Linked DNA regions of Homo sapiens: region 1 is linked to region 2. The links are contacts of gene promoters, found by promoter capture Hi-C in human tissues and cell types (Jung and others, 2019). All regions are on one chromosome and are shown on one strand. Each heading gives the region's core, a stretch centred on a gene start or on the middle of the fragment in contact. The rest is flanking DNA. Distances are from core to core; before and after follow the strand shown.

Region 1 (3,159 bases), core at 572-3,071, 380 kb after region 2:
GTGTTACAGCACTTAACCTGTTTAAACGCTATGGGTTGTTTAAGTGGAACATCTCTCTGGATTTATCTAATCTGGCCAAAGATTACGCAATTCAGATTACCTGAACTTGTCCTTTCCTTCATTGGTTTCAAACGTGTTCAGATTAGCCTACAAAGAGGATAAGTTCAACAAGGGAGATGTAAGGCATTAACATTTAAGATCAATTCATCACACAGTTCTGAAAATAACAGTGTAAAGGCAAGTTCAGGCAGAGTTAAACCAAATGATTATTTTCTGCAGGGTGGGTAGTTTTGGATCTTGAGCTTGTGTCATTGTTTTGGTGACATGCGGAATTTATGCATCTGTATTTGAACAAGATTTAACACTAGTACAACAGCTGTTCCTTAGAACAAATGAACTCTTTGCTTATATAAGAACCTTTAACCTAACCTAGAGAGGGAGAAAACAGTGCCTCATATGGTTTACTCACGTGTGATCTTTTGCCCCAAGCCTGCCTTCAGACTTTCGAACAATAGACTTAATACATTTGGGATTGCAGGTGTTTTTATAAGTGTATCCATTGCAAGACTAGCCACTGGGTTGCAACAGCTTTGAGGCTTGAAGAACCCAAATAAAAAGATGAAAAGTTTGGTGATAGAAATTTTAGTTTGTTAAACTATTCATTGTCCCCAGGTTAAAAACTTTATGGGCCTCTATTTAATGGCTGATGCCTTTGCCCAGATTCTCTGTTAATAAAACTAAATTCCCAATTGTAACAATTTCTAATTGTATCATCAAATGTAGTAGCATAAAAACTTTAAGCCATGTTTGCCTTAAAGATTTGATTGATGTGGTGGGGTGGAGGACTAGTGAGTAATACCTTTATTATCTGACTTGTGTAGGCTCATTCTACCTTAACCCACCCTCCAACCATTGTATAGTCTACTCATGTCCTAATTCCATAAGACATTAGAGTAATTTCTGTTGCATAAATGATAGCTTTCATTGCTTATAAAATGTGCTTCAATACACTCAATAATGTCTTCTTCAAACTTATATTGCATTGATTACATCTGGCAGCCCCATATGGTAAAACGTAGTTATGACCCTTCTAATTAAATTATAGTTAGAAACTCACTTCTGGGGTGCAGCTCAGCAATCTACCAAATTTCTCAGTGACATTCAGAACATGAAATAACTTGGGGAGAATAAATTTGCAACACAAATGGGAACAGAGGAGAAGGTTTTCAATCTCTATTTATTTTTCAAAATTCATTACTTGTACAATTTATTTTCCAAACTAATTCTAAGCAAAGATGAGTAATACTACCTTGGCAGGAGTCTGTGCTTAAGATATTTCCATATGTTTAAGCAGAAATACCTAGTATGGTACTTTCCCTATAAGTAGAATGCCATGAAAAACGTTCTTAAGACAGGTTCTCCAGCACCTCCTTCCACCCTTGGTCTCGATGAAGGACCCCATGTCCTATTTCACAGAGAAAAGGGAAACCTTCAGAAAACTTCCACACTCACTACCACTTGTTTCCACCCAAAAGCATCTGTACCCATGTACTTTACCTTTTCTCCTGTTTCTATAGATACGTTGTCGGTGCTTCTCTATAAGGTCAATGCCTCTGCTTGTGTTCTAGACTTCATTCCCTCTCCTCTCCTCATGATACCACTCCTGCAGTGCCCTTCTCCTCCAAATAATCAACTTCCCCCTCCCCTAGATCATTACCCCTAGGAAACAAACGTGCTGTTTTTTCTCCTGTCTTAAACAAACTAGAAAACGAAGAAAACTCTTTCTTGACTACTCCCTTCTCCACCCAGCTACTGTTCTTCAAGAGTTTTCTTTGCTCAGTTTCTAAATTTTTGTTCCCCATTCTTCCTTAACTCAGTCTAATGAGGCTTTCAGTTTCACTCTCCACCTCAGCCTCCCCATTCCACCTGTATTGGCTTCTTGCTGATCTGTGGATTAACCAGACTCATTCCTCAGCATTTGCACTTGCTAATCCCTGGCTTCTGACCCTAGATATCCAGAGTTTAGCTTCTTCACCTTCCTCCTTGAAACCTTTGTTCAAAAATCACCTATTCAGTGAAGCTTCCTAATCTTTTTATTTAAAATTGCGATACTCCCTCTCACCTCCTTACTTTCTTATCCCCTTTCACTGAGGTTTTTTTTTTCCAGGATATTTATCACATTCTAATATTCTACATGACTTATTTTCTAAATAAAATTCCTTACAGAGGTTTTTGAAGACTTGAATGTTTAACAGGCAAAGTAGATAGAAGCCTCCTTTACGAACAAATTGAATGCCCGGTGACATTCAATTCAAGGAGGGGATGTTGGGAAGGAAGGGGTCTGGACTTTGGAGCCAGACCTGATTGATTCTCTGCTTACTATTTTTCAGCTGTGTCATTTTAGGTAATCTACCCAAAGTCCCCAGGTCTCAGTTGGCTCATGTGTAAGTAGGGAAAATATACCTAAATCATTCATTCAGCAAACATTGAGTGCAGACTTGGGCCAAGCAGTGGGCTAGGTCCTGGTAGTCCTAAGTGGGTCGGATGTGGTTTCTGTTCCTCATGGAGCTTGCAGTCTAGGGAGCAAATTGATGTTAGGCAATAATGCTAGAAAAAAAAGATAAAAATCACAGCTAGTAGATTGCAAAGGAATAAGTGGTCTGGCTTGTAATTATTGCTCAATTATTTCCTCGTTTCCCATTCCTCTCATGCCACCACTGTCATATTTCAACCACAGTTTTGTGTGTGTGTGTGTGTGTGTATGTGTGTGTGTGTGTGTTGAGACAGGATCTTACTCTGTCACCCAGGCTCAAGTGTAGCGGTGTGATCTTGGCTCACTGCAACCTCCACCTCCTAGGCTCAAGCAATCCCCTCACCTCAGCCTCCCAAGTAACTGGAAACACAGGTGTGCACCACCACGCCCAGCTAATTTATCTTGTATCTTTGGTGGAGACGCAGTTCCAACATGTTGCTCAGGCTGCTATACCACGATTTTACTGACAGGCATATCCCAGTTGGTATTCTACCAGCTCGTTTTCCACACTTGAGTGTGTCTAACAATCACCTGAAATATCCGTTAAAAATACAGGCAACTGAGGTCAATATGTAGAATTTCTTTTTCAAGAGTTTGGTGATGTAACCCCCAAACTGGATTTTAAC
Region 2 (3,337 bases), core at 214-2,713:
ATGAAGATTCCCTCCATCGAAACCGAGCTTCTCCTTGTATAGAAAGACCATGTTTATTAAACTCATTTGCTATTGTATGTTACCTTGTGTTATTTTTTGCATCTTTGTTTATATAGATTTTGTTTCCCTAAGTAGCCCAAATATTTGAGAGTGGTCCTACCATTGACCTTTGAAACCCCAGCAATCAATACAGTCCCTATACATAATGTAGTGCCAATAATAATGTGCTAAGTATGTAATTTTTTTTCTACTGCTTTTAGTTTTTTGCACAACCTACCCTACGGAAAAAATTAAACACGCCCTCTTTCCCACTTCAACTAAACTTTTTGTTTTCTTTTTTCCATGTTTCCTAACGATCTTGATGAGCAATCAACAAATATACATTGAACACTCTCTCCCTGCCAGGTGTCAGGTTAAGCACTGAGGATCAAGGTCAACCAGACAGGTATAATACCAGTCTTCACTGAACTTACACTCTGGTGAAGGAAGTAGGTAAAAATTAAAAAGCGAATAAAATAATTGCAAGAATTATTAAGTGTCTTGAAAGACATAAAGGAACTACTTTCAAACAATTCATTTGTAATACAATTGGTAAAATTATGACAGGTCAGGGCAGCCCTCTGTGTAGACTATAAGATAAGCTAAATTGGAGAAAGGCAGAGGGAGTCATTACATTTGCATAAGCATACAGTTTGTATAATTTTAATCCTGTGTAGTTTCAACTTTACTATATTTTTTAATGAGCCTTGTTAACTTTAGATTTTAAGTCAAGCTATAAAATATATATAACTGAACCTTACATACCTGAGTCCCTCTACTGCTGATTTTGGGAAGAAAAAATAAACTTCCACATCTTCAGATTTCTCAGGAATCGGGCACCCCGCACCATAGCCCTTACTTGTGAGGAGTAGACTTCAAGAAGTAAGTGGGTGCATGTGAACGCGCAGGCAGACTAAAGGCTACAAAAGGGGATGAAATATGGTTTCTCAGGGTGCCAAATTTTTCATAAGGTGCAAATGACTTCAAAGGATAAAAGGGGCTAGTATTTGAAAGGGTCGGGCTGCAGAAGGGGTACAACTGATGAAGTCCCCAATTTCACTGTCTGGGGTTCACTCTTGATTCATTTATCCATTAGCATTTTGGGCTGGGAAGTCTTTGGTGTATACCAAAGGCTTTCAACTCCTGAGGCCAGGGCCCCGTCCTGCTGCCTGCAGGCCTGGCACTATGTCAGCCTATGGCAGGGGCTCAGCAAACACTTGCTGGGCCGGTGCCTCCAGCTCCACCCGAGCTGAGTCTGCTTCCCAGCCGCGCTGCCCGCTCTGCTCCCCGCACCAACTAGCCCGGGCTTGCTGCCCGCTAGGCGGACTCAGAGACCATCCTCCCCTCTCATCCACCCGCAGACAGACAACCCACCTGGAGACCCCAGCCTCTCGCGTCACCACCGCCGGATGGCCGCGGATAGCTGCCGGGAGTTTCCGTCTTGGTCTCCTTGGTTACCGCGTTACCTCGGTACCCATAGCAACCAGAAAGCTGGGTTCTGCCACTGTCCGCCGGCAGAGGGCGAAAAGGAGCCTGCGAAATGAGAGAGAATGGTGATCACAGGAAGGAAAAGGGCGGAAAAACTCAACAGGCTCTGGAAGCTTTCCGCCAGAGAGGATCTTGGAGATTATGTATGTGCTAAACCTGAGCATGTGTCATATTCCAAGCACAAGTGAGAGACTTATATGTCATATTTGATTCTTCCTCATAGCAAGCCAGCTTAAATCTAAAAAAATTAAGGCACAAAAAATTTGACTATCTTAATCCAAAATTACAAAGCTAGCAAATGGCAGACCTACAAATTAATTCAAGGAGTTTAGTCTCAGAACTCCCACATTTATGCTATGTTTAAATGATTTATCAATGGCTACCATAGGCAAAGTCAATAGAGATTCCAGGTCTCTTCAAAAGTCCAGAACTCTCTTTTCTTTGTACCGAATACATGACCCGTGGAGTCTAATGGGTATAAAACAAAAAGCAAAAGCAAATATATGCACACACACACACACACACACACACACACACACACACACAGTTAACCCACAATTCTCAACTCAACTCTTCCGAACAAAGCTGCACCTGTAGTGAATTTATCTTTGGCTTCCTAAATATGCTGTTTTTTATCTCCCTTTTTAAATACTGCAAGTAGGATGTGTGGTTGGTACTGCACTGTATAGGCTTCTATGCTTAACCACATTGCATCTGTCTCGGTACCAGACTAACAATCCTAACTATTACAGTTAATGTACTAATCTTTACACCATTACTTTTGACATTACTATGCCTGCCAATACCCATTTAAAAAAAAATAATGATTTCACTTGGCATATTCAATTATATAAGATTACAACCACTATGGATAAGAGAAGACAATGGTAGTCTTCTGGTTATAAGTCTGGATTTTGGAGTCAGGCAGATTCAAGATTGAGTGCCAGTACTGCCACAACTTACCTGCTGTGTGACCATGAGCAAGTAACAATGCTCAGTCTAACTGCTTAAATGAGATAACAGTACAGTTAGTCCATACGTAATGTAGTATGGAAGAGTAAATGAAACAATAAATATTAAGTATTTAGCTCTAAGCCAGGCCCATATTGAGTGCTTAATAAACAGTAAGAAACAGTGGTGCTGGTGTGGCTATGATGGTTGCTATTAACGTGTTCATGGTATAACTTTACCACGTCCTTCCTTTAACTTTAATACAAGAACTAGTTTCAGGTGGATGTGCGATACTACTGGTTTTCTTGCACAGACTATTTCCCATACAGGCGCGCTCTTCAAATTACCAAAGATATTTTCAGCTTTCGTCCATTTACTGATCTATTCATTTATTTATTTATTCCACAAATATTTATTGAAAGTCCATTTCCTAGATCCCAAAAATACTGGAGTGAAGAAATCGTCAAAGCCCCTCCTATTTTCAAATATATTTTAACAGGAGCAGAAAGGCAATAAACAAGTATAAATGCATGTCAGCTGCTATGAAGAAAACTAAAGCCAAATAAAGAAATAGAAACTAATTGAGTTCTGTTTTAGGGTAGATGGCCAGGGAAGTATCTGAATGCAAGGAAAGAGAAAGACATGGGCCACTAGAGGAAGAAACAGTCCAGAGAGAACAGTAAACACATGTCAATTATGTCCCAGTAAAGATTATTTTGCAAATAACTTCTCCTCACTTCTACAAAGGACTTTTACTCCAAAAAATGATTCTTACAATGCATTTACTTACACAATAGTAAAATTAAACTCATAAAAATAATGTATAAAGTATTCTTGCACTTTTTGAAAGCATTAAAAG

Evidence for each region. Contacts are between HindIII fragments. The study calls those that stand out against the background at their distance.
Region 1: a contact is called between a fragment that was not itself captured here and the fragment with the promoter of ZBBX in region 2, in 1 of the 25 tissues and cell types used here (dorsolateral prefrontal cortex).

The regions. Positions count from the first base shown.
Region 1 is chr3:167,760,618-167,763,776 of GRCh38, forward strand. The region is part of intron 1 of SERPINI1 (serpin family I member 1); the gene reads left to right. Among named protein-coding and RNA genes, the nearest start is that of SERPINI1, 26 kb to the left of the region's middle. The HindIII fragment of the contact is 3,198 bases long and covers 223-3,159 here.
Region 2 is chr3:167,378,834-167,382,170 of GRCh38, forward strand. It overlaps ZBBX (zinc finger B-box domain containing), which reads right to left and starts at 1,464. Exons shown (of 22, transcript NM_001199201.2): 1 at 1,414-1,464; 2 at 805-959. The HindIII fragment of the contact is 5,963 bases long and covers 1-3,337 here.